6 separate regions of the Homo sapiens genome follow, and regions 1, 2, 3, 5 and 6 are each linked to region 4. Evidence: promoter capture Hi-C in 16 types of primary human blood cells and fetal thymus (Javierre and others, 2016). All regions are on one chromosome and are shown on one strand. Each heading gives the region's core, a stretch centred on a gene start or on the middle of the fragment in contact. The rest is flanking DNA. Distances are from core to core; before and after follow the strand shown. Region 1 has its middle 26 kb from the start of ADRA2B. Region 2 overlaps ARID5A (AT-rich interaction domain 5A). Region 3 has its middle 14 kb from the start of DUSP2. Region 4 holds the start of SNRNP200 (small nuclear ribonucleoprotein U5 subunit 200). Region 5 has its middle 11 kb from the start of ARID5A. Region 6 holds the start of ADRA2B (adrenoceptor alpha 2B).

Evidence for each region. Contacts are between HindIII fragments. The CHiCAGO score rates a contact against its expected background, and 5 or more counts as called.
Region 1: a contact is called between a fragment that was not itself captured here and the fragment with the promoter of SNRNP200 in region 4, in 1 of 17 cell types (neutrophils). The highest score is 5.0, in neutrophils.
Region 2: a fragment that was not itself captured here is called in contact with the fragment with the promoter of SNRNP200 in region 4 in 5 of 17 cell types (naive CD8 T cells, monocytes, total CD8 T cells and 2 more); the score reaches 7.1 in naive CD8 T cells.
Region 3: a contact is called between a fragment that was not itself captured here and the fragment with the promoter of SNRNP200 in region 4, in 1 of 17 cell types (erythroblasts). The highest score is 5.8, in erythroblasts.
Region 5: a fragment that was not itself captured here is called in contact with the fragment with the promoter of SNRNP200 in region 4 in 7 of 17 cell types (activated CD4 T cells, naive CD8 T cells, naive CD4 T cells and 4 more); the score reaches 8.7 in activated CD4 T cells.
Region 6: the fragment with the promoter of ADRA2B here is called in contact with the fragment with the promoter of SNRNP200 in region 4 in 9 of 17 cell types (fetal thymus, M0 macrophages, M1 macrophages and 6 more); the score reaches 7.3 in fetal thymus.

Annotation. Positions count from the first base shown.
Region 1 is chr2:96,089,421-96,092,243 of GRCh38, reverse strand. No RefSeq gene overlaps it. Among named protein-coding and RNA genes, the nearest start is that of ADRA2B, 26 kb to the left of the region's middle. RefSeq lists an enhancer at 1-3. The HindIII fragment of the contact is 2,327 bases long and covers 296-2,622 here.
Region 2 is chr2:96,545,015-96,547,790 of GRCh38, reverse strand. ARID5A (AT-rich interaction domain 5A) reads right to left here. Exons shown (of 7, transcript NM_212481.3): 2 at 274-389. Among named protein-coding and RNA genes, the nearest start is that of ARID5A, 9.7 kb to the right of the region's middle. The HindIII fragment of the contact is 8,360 bases long and covers 1-2,776 here.
Region 3 is chr2:96,158,502-96,161,201 of GRCh38, reverse strand. No RefSeq gene overlaps it. Among named protein-coding and RNA genes, the nearest start is that of DUSP2, 14 kb to the right of the region's middle. RefSeq lists enhancers at 2,046-2,583, 2,592-2,700. The HindIII fragment of the contact is 2,954 bases long and covers 1-2,700 here.
Region 4 is chr2:96,304,151-96,306,927 of GRCh38, reverse strand. SNRNP200 (small nuclear ribonucleoprotein U5 subunit 200) reads left to right here and starts at 1,382. Exons shown (of 45, transcript NM_014014.5): 1 at 1,382-1,535; 2 at 2,060-2,223. The coding sequence starts at 1,491. RefSeq lists enhancers at 1-301, 894-973, 1,223-1,517. The HindIII fragment of the contact is 15,934 bases long and covers 1-2,035 here.
Region 5 is chr2:96,524,615-96,527,561 of GRCh38, reverse strand. No RefSeq gene overlaps it. Among named protein-coding and RNA genes, the nearest start is that of ARID5A, 11 kb to the left of the region's middle. RefSeq lists a silencer at 23-362 and an enhancer at 2,695-2,947. The HindIII fragment of the contact is 1,660 bases long and covers 657-2,316 here.
Region 6 is chr2:96,115,308-96,118,007 of GRCh38, reverse strand. ADRA2B (adrenoceptor alpha 2B) reads left to right here and starts at 1,437. Exons shown (of 1, transcript NM_000682.7): 1 at 1,437-2,700. The coding sequence starts at 1,859. RefSeq lists silencers at 608-677, 718-1,177, 1,188-1,347, 1,448-1,537. The HindIII fragment of the contact is 8,066 bases long and covers 1-2,700 here.

The sequences.
Region 1 (2,823 bases), core at 210-2,709, 210 kb after region 4:
GGGAGGGAGGACGAGGACAGGGAGGAGCCAGCAGCTGCCATCAGGGTTGGGCACTGGGGAAATCCCACAGGGGCCACACCCATCTCCTTTTGCAAAGCCTGGAAGGGCCTGGAGGGGACAGAAGAGGGAGAGGTGTTGTTACCAGGCAGCATTGAGTGGGAATGGGTGCGAGGAGGTTTACAGGAGCCAGCGTGTAACTGCACACCAGGTGTTCCCATACGTCAGGAAACGCCTCTCCGCTCCAGCTAAGGAAGCCAAGATCCAGGGCCCGATTCCCTGCCTGCCTCACCAAGCTTCCCCTGGGGAGGGCACCACCCCCACCACCTGGCTCCTTTCACACTGCCCCGTGCGACCGACCCATGGCTCCAGGAGAGGGGGTTTAGAGTCAGGGACCAGCTCCTGGCAGTGGTTCTCAGAAGCTGCCAGCCTCCCAGCCTCTCAAATGGCCCTGCCGAGGTCTGCCCTCGGTCTCCTGTTCAAGCCCCTACCCTAACGAGGCTGCTGGGAGACGGTTTCCCTGCAGGGCACATGCAGTCTGGATGACTGGCTCCTTGCCGGGCCTGAGTGATGTCCCCGGCGCCTGCAATGAACCAAATGTGGTTATCCGTGCCTCTGCCCCTGCTGGCTCCCAGAAGCTGGCAATAGAATTATAGCCTCACGTCTGCCCTCCGCTGCCTTCCCCTCGGCCTTCCCCTCAGCTGCATTCTGGGGCGGAGCTGGGTGTCCTGCCTATTGTCCCTGTTGGGAAGGCATGGCTGAGGCTTGGGTGGCCAGGATTTCATGATGGGCTGGGAAGGAGGAGGATGAGCGCTGGAGCAGGGGTCCAGAGACTCAGCCTGGGGTCCCCAAGGGCTCTGGGCTGCTCACAAGAACTGCAGGCCTGGTCACCTCGCCCCTGCCTCCCCGACGCTCTCTCCTCGGCAGTCTTATCTCTCTGCAACCCAGGCTTGCCCAGGGCACTTCCCTCCTGAAAGCCTGTTGGTGGCTCCTGGCTGCCCACAGGACAAAGTCCAGGCGCCACCCCAGTTACTTGCCATTCCCCAGGGTGCCCAGTTCCTCCCTGGTGCATGAAGGGCAGTAGCCTCTGGCTAAGGACACAGGCCCAGGATCAGCTGCTCAGGGATGTACCATCCAGAGTCCCCTGACATCCTGGGTGTCCCCCTCTTCCTGGTGTCCCCCTCTTCCTGACCACCCTGAGACCACATTTCCCAGCCCCCTTGATCTAGGCATGAGTTGGGCCAATGGAAAGGGGGTGGAAGAGAGACGTACGCCACATCCACTTGGCCCATGAAAGTCTCCCAAGCAGGATCCTTTACTCAGTTTCCCTTTTGTTGCAAGCATGCAGGCCACAAGCTAAAGATGGTAGCACTAGAGAATAAATAGAGCCTGGGTCCCTGAATCACCACTTGGATTCACCCTAGACTGTGACATGAGCAAGAAATCAGCCTGTGCTCAGCTGCAGAGATCTGGGATTCTTTGTTCTAGCAGTTCGCTTACTCTGACTCACAAAAACCTTAGGAGTAACGGTGTGCAAGTGGTGTAACATGAGACCACTTTTCTCGTCTGTGAAATGAGATAATAATGCCTACGTTGAAAAATGTTGGGAAAGATGGACCATCAGGCACCTGGCCCTTAGTAAGCCCTCAGTACTTAAAGCTATTTTGCAATTTCTAGGCCTTTGCATGTCTCTTCCCTATCCTGGCCTTTTCTTCCCAGCCGGCTGCATTCTGGGCCTCCTTCTAGGCTCACTGCTCTAGGAGGCCTTTCTGAGCCCCCAGCTTCCACTCTCCTCCTGGGCCTGGGACTTGCAGCCTGGGGACACACCAGCTGGAGCACTTCCCTTGCGGCACCATTCTCAGTTATCTATCTGTCTGCCTCTCCCTGGACTGGGTCCCACATGCAGCCAGTGCAAAGCCCGGCACAAAACAGGGCCCATAAGTGGCTCTTTCATTTGTTAGCGAGGCTGAGCCTGCCTGTCTCAGGCCGGGGCTGGTGCTGTGAGGCGGACTGAGGCCCTGAATGTGAAACCGCGTTGGAAAATGGAAAAGTCTCCCAGACTCTCAGGAGCAGGTTCCCTGGCCCAGAGCACACTCGAGCCCCTGCCCTGCCACAGCCCCTCTCTCAGGAGCCCCTTCTGCCGCAGTTCCCTTTTCTGCCTGTTTTTCTGTCTCGGAGACTCAGTGTCAGCAGTTGTCAAGACAAATGGCACCAAGCAGGACTCAGGTGAGGCCTGGAATCCGCACCAGGGCCCCTCGCAGTTCTCCACCTGCCACGCTGCAGCCCCTGCTAGCTGCTGACCAGATGCAGCTGAGGACAGCCGAATGAGAACAGAGGCCGCCAGAGAGCAAGGGACTCTCATGGCCAGTGCTGGACACAAGCCAGCCTGGGGGTGGTGCCGACAGCAGCCTTGCTTGGCTCTCCCTCCTGCTCACCCTCCACCCTCCACCCTCCGTCTTTGCTTCCTCCCAGGTGCAGGGGGTCAGGAGTGTGTGGGCTCCCTCATTTGTCCCTGTGCAGCGTGGGGTGGGAGCGAGACACCTAAAGGCTTGTAGGGAGCCACCCACAGGAGGCAGGGGGCGGAGGAAGGAAGGGAGGTGGCACCTGGCCCAGGTGCGGAAAGCTTGTACCCCTGGACCTATGGTTCCGACTCAGCTGTGACCTGGGCCTGTGAAAGGACTGGAGGGGAGCTGGGCATGGGGCCAAGCCTGGCGTGGCTGGGAAAGAGGACCCAGCCTGCCGCTCGAGGCCACTGCCAGTGCCCAGGTAAGTCTGGGAAGAGGAGCCCCGGCTGGACCATGAGGCCCCATTTCCCCCTCACGTTTC
Region 2 (2,776 bases), core at 272-2,771, 240 kb before region 4:
GTGGTTTTACATCATGGGCTGGAGCTTTTGTCTGTTTAATGGATCAGGGTGGTAGGTCATCTTCATTTCAAAAAAGGGTTCTGCTACAAAAACCAAGATTGAAACTCTCTGCCACAGATGACAAGTAAGTCCCCTGGCTGCTGGGCAGGGCCAGGGTAGGAACATATCTCCCTCCTGAGAGCTTGGGGAGTGTCCAGGTTCACCTGGAGGCGGAGCACAGGTGAGGGTGGCAGGGAAGAGTGCCCAGGGAGTCAGCAGAGGGAGTCAACTCACCTCCAGCGAGATGGGGTTCTGGATTCCGTTCTGCTTGCCAGCAGGTTTGGGGGATGCAGGTGGGTCTAGGGCGTCACCCTCCGTGGACTGCTTCCTGTTCCCTTTGACAGGGGCTGCTGCAAGGAGAGAGGGAAGGAGTAAGGAGGAAGGGGTGGGGAGAGAGCATATGAGATGCAAGCAGGGAGGAACAGGAGCACTCTCCCTACTCCCAATTGGAGTTGCCAGAGGGCGCCAGTGCAGGGGCTCACTCCTGTGATCCCAGCACTTTGGGAGGCCCAGGCAGGCGATGACCTGAGGTCAGGAGTTCAAGACCTGTCTGGGCAACGTAGTGAGACCCCGTCTCTATTATTAAAAAAAAAAAAAGAATTGGCCAGGGGGAAGGGGTGTGTCCCTGGCTGCACATAGGCTACATGCACACACACACACAGGCCCTCCTCCCCGCTCCCCGACAACCCGCTGCATCCGCTCCACACCTGTCCCTTTTCTTTCCTCTGCTCCAACTATCTCCCCACATCTTTGAAGGAAACGCAAAACCACCTTGAGGTCAAGTCACAGGAGGCCGGGGTTGGGCTGTGGTGCTTGGGGAAATCCTGTCTCCAAAATCTGCCCCATGCTCAGACACAGAGTTGAGAAGCAGCTTAGTCTCACTGGAGAGCTAAAGGATCCCATGGCTGTGGCCCCAAAGCAACACAGGGGTCCCTGGGTAGTAGTTCCTCTGGGAATATTCAGGAATATCTGACCTTTCCCTGAGCATCTGCAGAGTTCTAACTGCCCTAATAAGGCCACATGCTCTCCTCACCTACAAGGGTCCTGGTGACCCCTCAGGTCTCTGCTGACAAGTGCCTTCCTCTGGGTGGCCTCCTCTGGCCCCTGGCCACGGGCAGCTCCTCCCTCGCCCTAGGCTACTCACAGCCATCCTGGCTGAACTGCCTGTGGCTCCTGGGGCTCCCTGATAGTTCGGTGAGGCTTCCCATACCCCACACAGCAGGTGCCAAGCTGGAATGAGCAAGGCTCACAACAACCCTGCGTGGTGGGCAGGAGAAGCCATGGGCTGTATTTTACTAAGAACCACCATGTGCTGATGGTTGCAAAAACGCAACACCTCTGCCACTGCAAAAACCACAACCACTGGAAACTGCCTGAGGCCACACAGCAGGCTGGCAGCAGATACCAGACCAGGAACCCACATCTTCTGACAACCTTTTCTTTCTGTCCTTTGTTCTTTTGTTAATCAAGTATGAATTGGTTCACTCCCTCCCAGGACATCCTTATTGTTAGGAACCTATGAGATTTCCCTTCCATCCCAGACAGAAAAAGAATCTCCTCAGGAACAAGAAACCCAAACCAGCGTAAGCCAGGGGCCAGTGGTACTCAGAGGCACAGGGTAGAATCCTTGGCCACTGAGTGGTCCTGCTTTGGTAGGTGTTCTTATGTCTTCCCTCCATGTTGATGGCTGCTGACTGATTTCAGGGTGGTGGTTTCTTGGGCTGGGGTGACTGTGGCAATTTCTTAAAATAAGACAACAATGAAGTTTGCCACATCCATTAACTCTTTTTTTTTTTTTGAGTCAGAATCTTGCTCTGTTGCCCAGGCTGGAGTGCAGTGGCGTGATCTTGGCTCACTGCAATCTTCGCCTCCCAGGTTCAAGTGATTCTCCTGCCTCAGCCTCCCGAGTAGCTGGGACTACAGGTGCGTGCCACTAAGCCCGGCTAATTTTTGTATTTTTAGTAGAGACGGGGTTTCACCATATTGGCCAGACTGGTCTCAAACTCCTGACCTCATGATCCACCCACCTCGGCCTCCCAAAGTGCTGGGATTACAGGCATGAGCCACTGCACCTGGCAACTCTTCCTTTCATGAAAGACTTCTCCATGGCATGCATGTGATGCTATTTTTGACAGCATTTTATCCACAGCAAAACTTTCAAAACTGATGTCCCTCCTCTCAAACCCTGCTGCTGCTTTATCAACTAAGTTTCTGTAACATTCTAAATCCTTTGTTGTCATTTTGACAATGTTCACAGCATCTTCGCCAGTAGATTCCACCTCAAGAAGCCACTTTAGGATGGGCGCGGTGGCTCACGCCTGTAATCCCAGCACTTTGGGGGCCAAGGTGGGTGGATCACCTGAGGTCAGAAGTTTGAGACCAGCCTGGCCAACGTGGCGAAACCCTGTCTCTACTAAAAACACAAAAGTCAGCTGGGTGTGGTGGCAGGTCCCAGTAGTCCCAGCAACTCAGGAGGCTGAGGCAGGAGAATCCTTTGAACCTAGGAGGCGGAGGCTGCAGTGAGCTGAGATTACTCCACTGTACTCCAGTCTGGGCGATGGAACAAGACTCTGTCTCAAAAAAAAAAAAAAAAAAGAAAAAGAAAAAGAAAAGAAAAGGAAAGAAAAAAAAAGAAGAAAAAAAGTCACTTTCTTTGCCCACCCATAAAAAGCAACTCCTCATCCACTCAAGTTTGATCATGAGATTGCAGCAATTCAGTCTCATCCTCAAGCTCTGC
Region 3 (2,700 bases), core at 130-2,629, 150 kb after region 4:
TCACCCTCCTCGTCCACCTCAAGTAGGCTCCATGTGTGCTCAACGTTTAGCTCCCACTTATAAGTGAGAACTTGCGGTATTTGGTTATCTATTCCTGCATTAATTTGCTTAGGATGATGGCCTCCACCTCCATCCGTGTTGCTGCAAAGGACTTGATCTCCTTTTTTATGGCTGTGTAATCTTCCATGGTATATATGCACCACATTTTCTTTATCCAGTCCACCGTTGATGGGCATTTAGGTTTATTCCTCCTCCTTGCTGTTGTGCATAGTGCTGTAATGAGCATTCACGTGCATGTGTCTTTGTGGTAGAATGATTTATGTTCCTTTGGGTACATACTCAGTAATGAATTGCTGGGTCAAATGATAGTTCTGCTTTAAGTTCTTGGAGAAATCTCCAAACTGCTTTCTACAGTGGCTGAACTAATTTACATTCCCACTGGCAGCATGGAAGTGTTCTCTTTTCTCTACAACCTCTCCAGCATCTGTTATTTTTTGACTTTTTAATAGTAGCCATTCTGACTGGTGTGAATTGTTATCTCATTGTGGTTTCGATTTGCCTTTCTCTAATAATTAGTGATACTGACCATTTTATTCATATGCTTGTTGGCCATATGTATGTCTTCTTTTGAGAAGTGTCTGTTCATGGCCTTTGCCCATTTTTATTATTTTTATTTTTTATTTTTTTGAGAGAGAGTCTTGCTCTGTCACCCAGGCTAGAGTGCAGTGGCGAGGTCTCGGCTCACTGCAACCTCTGCCTTCTGGGTTGAAGTGATTCTCCTGCCTCAGCCTCCCAAGTAGCTAGCTGGGGCTACAGGCGCGAGCCACCACAGCTGGCTAATTTTTGTATTTTTAGTAGAGACAGGGTTTCACATATTGGCCAGGCTGGTCTCTTGAACTCCTGACCTCAAGTGGTCTGCCTGCTTTGGCCTCCAAAAGTGCTGGATTACAGGCATGAGCCATTGTACCCAGCCCTTTGTCCATTTTTTAAATGGGGTTGTTTTTTGCTTGTTAATTTAAGTTCCTTATAGATTCTGGATATTAGAACTTTGTTGGATGCATTGTTTGCAAATATTTTCTCTTGTTCTGTAGGTTGCCTGTTTACTCTGTTGATGGTTTCTTTTGCTGTGTAGAAGCTGTTTAGTTTAATTAGGTCCCATTTGTTAATTTTTGGTTTTGTTCCAATTGCTTTTGGAGTCTCTGCCAGGGCTTGTGTCCAGAATGGTATTTCCTAGGTTTTCTTCTAGGGTTTTTATAGTTTTTATATGCTGGGAGTTCTGGGGAGGAGAGCCTGCATACCAGCCTGAGCTCCTAGTCCCCACTTAACCCTGGGCCACTGTCCTGTCAGCCAAATCGAACTGCTACCGACATACCTGGGTGCCACTGAAAGGTTTCCAGCAGAGCAATTTAGAAACTTAGAAAGTTCATTCTGGATGCTACAGGAGGAGGGGCGAGGCTGGAACCAGGATAGAGGTGGGGTCTCTCAACTCCCTCCAGCCAAAGACCACGAGGAACACAGCTGTAGTTGAACAAATCGGGCATATTTGCAGCGAGGGCAAACACACAGTACCAGGAACCGTGGGCGTCTGGGCAGGATGTGTGAGAAAGCACCTGTGCCACAGGCTGGGCTGTCCTGTGTCCTTGATGTGTTGTGGAGAATTGGACTCCACCTCTTGATAGAAGAGCGTCAAAATGTTGTAGTCATTTTTGCACTGTACCACAAGGCCATTCTTCTTTTTTGGGCTGGGAGAACAAGGAGAGGGAAGATGTTGTCAGAGTCTGGGACAGCGAGGGCTGTGAAGAGGGGCCGAGCTATGGGAACGGGAGTCCCAGAGGGACCCAGCCCGGCCCACACCTTGGTGTCAGGGCAGAGGAGGAGCAGGGATAGAAGTCCTCGAGACTCTTTCCCCACTTCGCCTCCTGGTGCCTTCTGGCTGAGTAGTCAGGAAGCAGAGAGTGAGAGATCCCACCTGACTGTCCGTGCATGGCAGCCTGTGGGCCCAGAGCAGGGAGGAGAACGGGTCTGGGAAGGGGAAGGGGACAGAGAGTAACCAGCAAAGCCACTGCATTCCCAGAGCCCAGAGCGGTGCCTGGCGCATAAGAGCTGCTCCACAAATATGTGTTGAATGGCTGAGTCTCACGGAGGTCTTAGTTCTGGGCAGCGCCCCTCTAATGTGTGTGATCCTCCTGGGGAAATTCCAGGGTGGAGGAGGAGAAGTTTATTGAAGGGGCAAGAAGGGGCTGGGGCCAAAAACAGTCAGCAACACCCTCTCGTGACCCAGCTCCTGGCTCTCTCGCGACTCTTCTTGCCGCTGATGTGACTGGGCTGTCCCAGTGCAGACTCTCTGGACCTCACTGGCCAGGGTCTGAGGGCCTCCTGCCAAGCTAGGACAAGAAGGGGCTGTGCAGGCGGCCAGGCCCCCTGGGTCCACCTTGGACTCCTGGATCCCCCGTGCCCTGAGCCTCTCAGCAAGCCTTGCCCGAGCCCGTGCTGGGCAGCAGGTCCCGAGGCGGCCCTCTCGGGAGCAGACGGCTGCAGTGCACCAGCATGGATTTCTTCTGTCCCAGCACCTGCTGCATGGAGCCTACAGAAGGGGCTGCCGATCAGGGAAAGGAGGAAGGTTCTCTTAGCATAAGCAGCCCGGAGATGCACGAGGAAGGGGCCCAGCTAGGTGGGGCAGGGGGGCACTGTCTGTGACGC
Region 4 (2,777 bases), core at 133-2,632:
CTGACCTCAAGTGATCCGCCTGCCTTGGCCTCCCAGAGTGCTGGGATTACAGGCGTGAGCCAGCGTGTCCAGCCAATTGCCTCAATTTTAAGGATGAGGAAAATGGTGCTCACCGAGAGGCCAGGTAGCTAGCTACTTCAAAGTCACACAGCCACTGAGGAGCAGAGCCATGAGGACTCGACTGTCCCTTGGGAAGACGAGTTATTAAAAAAAAAACAAACACCCACCAAAGCAGCAAACTCCATGCCTACAGGGGCTGGGCAAGTAAAAATAAGGAGATGGGCAGGCATGAGAAAACAGGAGCAGTGGGAAGGACTTGCCTATTCTCTGACCTTGGCAGCTGCTGACCAGCAGCAGGTCATGCCATGCAGCAGTGTGGGTGTCATGTGGCTGATTTTCTAGTATCTCAACTGATGGGGGAGAGCCAGAGTTTGCATGAAATTATCCCAATTTTTAAAGAAGGAGCCAACAGTGAGCCAAACACGATACCACTACAGAACAAATCTGGTCTAGGGGACTGCTATTGAGGATGAATTCCTTTGGCTTAACACCCATCCTCCTGTTCATTCATCTTCTCAAAAGCAAACATGCTCTAAGTGAGGAGGGAGGTCACCTTCAGCCATAAGGCGCCATTCTACTGGCGAGAAGTGGTGGGGAATGTGGGACAGAGAAGACTTTGTAGCTGGGGAAGAAATTAAGTCATAGTCACCAAGGATTTGGCCCTGCCTTCACCGGTTTCCCTGGGCGGCAGGGAGGGCCCTACCATAGAATGTTACCGACAAGTGGGAGCAAATGGGGGCCCCGGCCCTGTTCGTTCAGCTGGGTGAAAACGAGGGTCTTGGGGGCACAGGTTTAGGTGGGATTGGTGGGGGATAGTAGCTTTCTTTTTCAATTGTTGAACACAGAAGAGAAACCCAAAGCAAGGCGCCAATCATTAAAACACACAAACACAGACACACGCGCAAGTCACCTTGCTCGCTGGGTACTTTAGTTACCTCAAACGGAAATGGGGTTTTCGGCCCCTCTTTTCCTGCCTACCTCATGGGACTGTTGCCAAAGAGGAAGGAACCGGAAGGAAAGGTCTTGGGACAGGACAGGGGCTAAGCAGCCGTGCATTCGTTATGATGTGAGGGGTGCCGGGGGCTGGAGACTGAGGTCGGGGAGAGCACGGGCCCTGGGTCCTTAGTGCCAGCGGGCGGCCAGAACCAGAGTGCGGGGGTCTAGGGATTCGGGGACCCAGACGCACCAGGCCCACATATCCCGCTCAGAAGGGTGCGGAAAGCCGCGCGCACACGGCAGGGACACGCCCCAGACACGCCCCGCCCCGCACTTCTGGGGCGCGACCCGGAAGCGGAAGGGAACCCGTTTCTTTTCCTTCCCCAGTGCGTCTTTCCTGCGTCGTTCCGGCGCGGCGGGAGCAGAGATCTGCGGCCGTTTGCAGCTTGCGGTAGGGAGGCGTGGTGGTCTGAAGCCTCCGAGCAGCCGCGGCCATGGCGGATGTAACCGCCCGTAGTCTGCAATACGAGTACAAGGCGGTGCGTTTGGTCTTGGGGAAGGATTCCAGGCTCAGGAGTCCAATGGGGAGGGGGAGGCTGAAAAAGGGAGTTTCAGTCTGAAGGCCTACAGGAGAGCCACGAAAACGAAGGGGAAATGGAATCGGGGTGAAGGTGGGGGTTATACGATGACGTGAATAACCTACTGGGGTCTGGGGAGCGCTAAGATCTCTCTAGGAGGAGTTTCTCGAGTACCTTCAACGCTAAGCCCTCCCCCTTCCACACGTCACTCCCAACCCACTCACTACTTTTCACAGGTGTGGGTTATGATGGGCGCTGTTAGGAACAAGAATTGTTTAGCTGATTCGACAGCGCATAAGACTTATTCAGCTGTACGCTTCTGCACAGCGTTATACTATGCAATTCTTAAGGAAAATATATTTTTATTACGATTAGTGATGATAAGCAACTAGTTACTACGATTTTTTCCATCAGCTGGGGTAACTATGATAGTAGGAATTGGCCCTGCTCATGTCAAAGCTTCAATAATGTTTTGATCTTTTCAGAACTCGAATCTTGTGCTCCAAGCTGACCGTTCTCTCATTGACCGGACCCGCCGGGATGAACCCACAGGAGAGGTGCTGTCCCTTGTTGGGAAGCTGGAGGGCACCCGTATGGGAGACAAGGCTCAACGGACCAAACCGCAGATGCAGGAGGAAAGAAGAGCCAAGTGAGTGCCAAGGGGATACTATTTTTTCCTTCAGATCCAAAGTCTCTTCCCTTTAACATTCGAGCAGCATTTTTGCTGGAATGCTTGGTGTAAGATCAGTGGCATTAAAACAATTCAGTGAAGGTAAAAACAGACCAGGAGAGTTTAAAGATTTTTTGGCCTTAACAAGTGCATCTCAAGTGGAAAATAACTTGTTGGTACCTTTTTCTTACATGTGTGTTTCTGGTCCATAGACAGATCTTAATTTTCTTCAGGGTATTTTCAAGACCCTTGCTATTCCTATGTCCCAGTAATTCGTTTTCCTTTTTTCCCATTACTAACTTCCTACCCCTACTTTTTCCATTTACTCTTGTCCACGTTCTACCTATTTTGTTGTAACAAACTAATTTAAGCATCCATAGTATGAAAGACAGGTTTCTTTCTTAGTTTGCATTTTTTTCCTTTATTTTTTTTTTTTAAGATTTCTTGGGGATATGTTTCAAAAACTTACCTTTACCTCATCATTATCTTTTGATCCTGAATATCTTGGTGTCTTGCTCCCTTTCCTATGATGA
Region 5 (2,947 bases), core at 237-2,736, 220 kb before region 4:
GGCCCTGCCGCCGGATCTGACTCAAAAAGGGGAGCTGGCTCAAACCGAAAGAATAATTCGGTTAGCCAAAGCGCCGATATTTCCCTGGGGCCCAAATGGCTGCCAGGCAGGGGGCTCCAGGGCCGCAGCCTCGCCGGCCCCTCGGGCCCCGCCGAAAGCCCCGGGCCCCATCCATCTTCGCCACCGAAAGGGGCAGGAAGAGCAGCTGAGAGGAGGGCGCCTCCTCCAGCCCCGCAGGCTCTGCTGCCGGACCGTCGTGTCCCTCCCGAGGCCTTCCCCTGCCTGTCCCAGCGGGCCCTGCTCTCTCGGGTTCTCAGGACGTTGGGCAGACCCCTTAGGCCTCTTTTCTAGCAGCACGCACATTCCTGCACACCTCCGCATGTGAAGTTTTTCTGGAAGTATCATGTGGACACTTTTGGAGGCCTACACCCACTCTTAGAGGTGTCTGGCGTCCCATTGCAGGGGCGTTCCGTCTTTTGAAGTTGAAGAATTGTCTTGGACCATACGTAAAATACACTAACACTACCGACAGCCGGTGAGCTAAAAGAAAAAATCGCGAAAATACCTCAGTGTTCTAAGAAAGCTTTATGAATTTGGGCCGCATTCAAAACCTTCCTCAGTCACATGCCGCCCTTGGGCCACGCGTTGGACAAGCTTGCATCCTAGAGACCAATGCGAAATTAACTCGAAAAGAAAGAACCGCTCGGGCCGATTCAACACCCCTGTCACCTATCCTCACCCACGATTTCACTCCCAGGCCCCTTGGCCTGGCGGCGCTTGCCCTTTGGCCAGCGTCCTAGAGGTCACAGTGAGGCCCAAATGAACGGGGTTTTACCGAACCGACATGCCCAGGAGAGAAACATGGATCTATACAGAGAGGCTAATCATTTGTTTCAAGCTGAATTGCCAGGGTGGAGTGGGTGGGGTGGGCCCAGGGGCTCCCCTCCGCTCCCCCCGCAACCCCTGTGTCCAGTCTGAGGTGCCTGTATGCATTCTCTTCAGGTCCCCACCTTCAGTCTGAAGCAGGGAGCCGGGCTTTGCAGGTGCAGAAGCTCTCTGGCTCTGGGAGCCTGCTGGACTCAAGTTCATTCTGACCTCAGGACAGGTGTGGGCAGGAGATGCTGACGGCTGGTTTTCCTGGGCCGCCCAGAACACCTGGCCTCTCAGCTGTCTCAGCACAAAATTCGCCCTGTAAGCAGGACCCTCCTGAGCTCCCAGAAGGGCCAGGCACATAGCTGCTGTCACCGGTAACAGTCCTGCAGACAGCGAGACGGCTGTGACACAGTGCTGCACACAAAGCCTGGCTGCTGCCCGCCATATGCAAGGACAGGCACCAAACACAGCCTAGGTCAGGGACCTGCGGGGTCAGCTGAGCGTGTGAGGAGGACTCAGGTGCCTGCAATCCCTGCCTCCCTGCCACAGCGTGATGCTACAGGGTGGCCCGGCAGGACTGGGTCATTACAGCTCCTGACCTACCAGAGGACCTAGTGTCACCCCCCACTCAGTTGTCACATTGCTGGGGAGTCTGAAGAGGGGGAAGGCACCAGGGTGGTCCCAGCCATGCTGGGACTTGGAGCAGTCCCTAGTACTGACACTGAAGTATGTCAATATCACAATAAGTGGCTTAGAGGGGGTGGCATTGACTGTTAATCCCAAGGGATGAAGGGAATACCTCGCTCCTGGAAGAAAGCTGGGAGCATCTCTCTGTTTTTTTTTTTTTTTTTTTTTTGAGACAGGGTCAGTCTGAAGTGCAGTGGTGCAATCTCAGCTCACTGCAGCCTTGGACTCCTAGGCTTAGGTGATTCTCGCACTTCAGCCTCCCAGGCAGCCACGACCATAGGCATGCACCACCATGCCTGTCTAATCTTTTAAAAAATTTTATGGAGGTGGGATCTTGCTATGTTGCCCAGACTGGTCTTGAACTCCTGGGCTCAAGTGATCCACCCACTTTGGCCTCCCAAAGTGCTGGGATTATAGGCGTGAGCCACTGCACCAGGCTACATCTCCATTTTAAGATGCTGAGTGGGCACTTGGAGGAAGGACAAGAAGCAGAGTGGGTCCTGCTATATTGTGTACATTCTGGAAGTCCTCACTGCCCTGGTACCCAGACTTAGGTCTGTCACTCAGGAGTGGCAAGGGCTGCCCTAGGTCTGGCCCAGAAGTCCTCTGAGCTCCTGCTTAGAGTGCCATAGTGCCATGCCAGTGGTATGGAGGGGCTTGAGCACACTCGGGCTTATGCACACATGTGTCCCGTGGACTGTCTGGGTGCGTCTCCATGTGGGAGAGCATTCTGCCTTCTTGCATGGCAGCAAAGCTTTCGTAGGAACTCTAACCCTGTTGAAGGGAAGTAGGGAAATGAGGAGTGTCTGAGACACCAGGCTGCCTGCTCAGTCTTTCAGAGGTAGGAGAGAAGCCTGCAGAGGTCTCAGGGCTCACTTCCGCTTCCCATGAAGGCTCCCACCTGGGATCCCCAAGGTCCAAGAGCCCTCTGGAGGGAGGACCTCTCCTAAAGGGCGGCAGCCTGGGATCATCAACCAGTCCATGAAATTTCCCTCCGAGCCCTTTACAGTTCACTGTGCCCTGATTTTACAGATGGGAAAACCAAGGCCCAGAGAGGGAAAGTGGTGTGCTCAAAGCCACACTGTGGATCAGGGGCGGGGCACGGTCTGGTGCCTGCCAGCGTCCTGCGTTTCTTCCCACACTGCAGTCAGGAGAGGGAGGTGGCCGGGCAACCCTGGATCTGCTGCCCTCGGGCAGTTAGGGGTGGGGAGGGAACTCCAATGGATGCTGTGCCCCTAGCAGCAGTGGCTGCTTCACATCCCGTCCTTGGCCAGTTGTTTTGAACAAGGTATGTTTTGCTAACTTTTTACCTGGGGATCTCCAAGCATGCGATGAATTCGGAGAATATGGTTGCTGGTTTCTGCACATTTTTTTCCCCTGTAGTCTG
Region 6 (2,700 bases), core at 188-2,687, 190 kb after region 4:
CCACCTGAGCCTGGGGAGGCGCTAGACATTGTCCGTGGGCACTGAGAGGCCACGTGCTCTGCTCCCATGGAGGGAGCAGGGAGGAGAGGAGGTCCAGCAGGTTGGACGGGGCCTGGGGGAGCCCCACTGTCAGAGGTGGATTGGTGCTTATTTATACAGAGGATGCCTTGCAGAGTCGTGGGCTGTGAATAAGAGGCCTGGCTCGAGGCGGGGCTTATGACATTAGGGGCTCCAGAACCGGGGAAACATGCCCTCAGGGCTGCCCAGGCTGGTGCTGGTGGCGGTGTGGCAGGGAGAGTGAGTTGGGGCCCTGAGGGAGAACAGTTGCTCATAGCGCTTTGAAGGCGAGTGGGGGGCCTTAGTCTGAAGTTTCTTTTTACCCCAACCCTCTTTCCACTGTCACCCCCAGAAGGGCTTCAGTGTGTATGTGGGGCAGGACCGCAGCAGGGAGGGAGGGTCAACCCCTTCCCCCGGGGTCACTACAGAAGCGGAGGGACGCTCCTCTCTTCACGGCTGCCCCTGAGACCTGCTTTTTCTCGGAGCTGTGTGACAAAGTCCCCACCCTTTACTCCCCCACGGCAAGGAAGGGACCTCCCCTTCGCATTAGTCAAGGGGCGGCAGCTCGCCCTGTGCCCCGTACAAACCCTTGGCTGAATCGCAGTTGATGCTGTGATTCGAGTCCAAGCCAGTTTCCCTGTTACCTCCTTTGCCCTTAATGGAGGAAACTGAGGCAGCTGCGGAGACACAAGAAGCCGAAGTCCTAAGACCCAGGCTGCGAGCGCTGGCTCCGGGACCCGGGCTGCCGCTGACGGGCTGGGCCCGCGGGCGGCAGCAGGGGGCGCTCGCAGGCCGGGACGCGCCCTCCTCGCGCGGCGCTGGCCCGACGGAGCTGGTCCGCGAGGGGCAGCGCCTGGGAAAGGGTCGGGACCGGCTCCCCGCTCCCCGCTCCCCCACCTCTCCGCAGGGCGTCTCCACGGCCGAGCCGGGCGGGGTTGTGGTGTATTGCGACCCGGCGCCCCAGCCCCACGCCCGCCCTGCCCTCCCTGCGGGCTCCCGAGCGGCGGAAGGCAGAGCAGGGCGCACCGGCGCCGGGCCCAGCCCGGTTCCCCCGGGAGAAGTGTCCCGTCCCGGTGCCGGCCCGCGCGCTAGCTCCGCGTCCCGGCTCCCGGCACCCACCGACCCCTCCACAGCTGCGCGCGTCCTGCCTGGGGGCCGGAGACCCCGGCCGCCGGGCCCCTCCGCTCTCCCGAGGCGCGGCCGCCGGGAGGAAGGCAGGTAGAGGCGCTGGGCGGGGTCCGGGCGCGGGAAGTCCCGGGCTCACGCCTCCCGCGAAGCGCACCTTCAGCCCACCTCGGTCCGCCCACCGCCCCGCCTCCCGCCCGCTCCCGCGCCCGCCTCCAGTCTCCGCCTTCCTCCAGCCGCTCTCCCCGCTCCCCACTCCCCTGCAGGCGCGGCTGGGGCGAAAGCCTGCGAGCTGAGCGGGCGCAAGGTCCTCCGCGCCTCCTTTAAGAACCGGCCCAGCCCGGCCCGCGCCCCCAGAGCGTACGGCATCCGCGTGGCGGGAGGGCGCGACTTTCTCCGGTCCCGGGCGGGACGGGGACGGCGGCGGGACAACTTGGGAAACTTCTCTGGGGCGGACGGCAGGGACCCCGGGCACCGGTGGAGGAGGATGTAGGAGGGCGGCTGCTGGTCCTGGGTGTTCCCGACCTCCTAGGCCCCGCTCGTCCAGGCCATGGGGCTCCAGCGCCCTCGGCGCCGCCCGAGGGGCGACGCTCTTGTCTAGCCGAGCCGGGCAGCGCTGTCGTCCACGGTGCGCACTGGGCGGGCAGCGCTCCCTCTGCCCACCTCCCGCCCCGTCATGGACCACCAGGACCCCTACTCCGTGCAGGCCACAGCGGCCATAGCGGCGGCCATCACCTTCCTCATTCTCTTTACCATCTTCGGCAACGCTCTGGTCATCCTGGCTGTGTTGACCAGCCGCTCGCTGCGCGCCCCTCAGAACCTGTTCCTGGTGTCGCTGGCCGCCGCCGACATCCTGGTGGCCACGCTCATCATCCCTTTCTCGCTGGCCAACGAGCTGCTGGGCTACTGGTACTTCCGGCGCACGTGGTGCGAGGTGTACCTGGCGCTCGACGTGCTCTTCTGCACCTCGTCCATCGTGCACCTGTGCGCCATCAGCCTGGACCGCTACTGGGCCGTGAGCCGCGCGCTGGAGTACAACTCCAAGCGCACCCCGCGCCGCATCAAGTGCATCATCCTCACTGTGTGGCTCATCGCCGCCGTCATCTCGCTGCCGCCCCTCATCTACAAGGGCGACCAGGGCCCCCAGCCGCGCGGGCGCCCCCAGTGCAAGCTCAACCAGGAGGCCTGGTACATCCTGGCCTCCAGCATCGGATCTTTCTTTGCTCCTTGCCTCATCATGATCCTTGTCTACCTGCGCATCTACCTGATCGCCAAACGCAGCAACCGCAGAGGTCCCAGGGCCAAGGGGGGGCCTGGGCAGGGTGAGTCCAAGCAGCCCCGACCCGACCATGGTGGGGCTTTGGCCTCAGCCAAACTGCCAGCCCTGGCCTCTGTGGCTTCTGCCAGAGAGGTCAACGGACACTCGAAGTCCACTGGGGAGAAGGAGGAGGGGGAGACCCCTGAAGATACTGGGACCCGGGCCTTGCCACCCAGTTGGGCTGCCCTTCCCAACTCAGG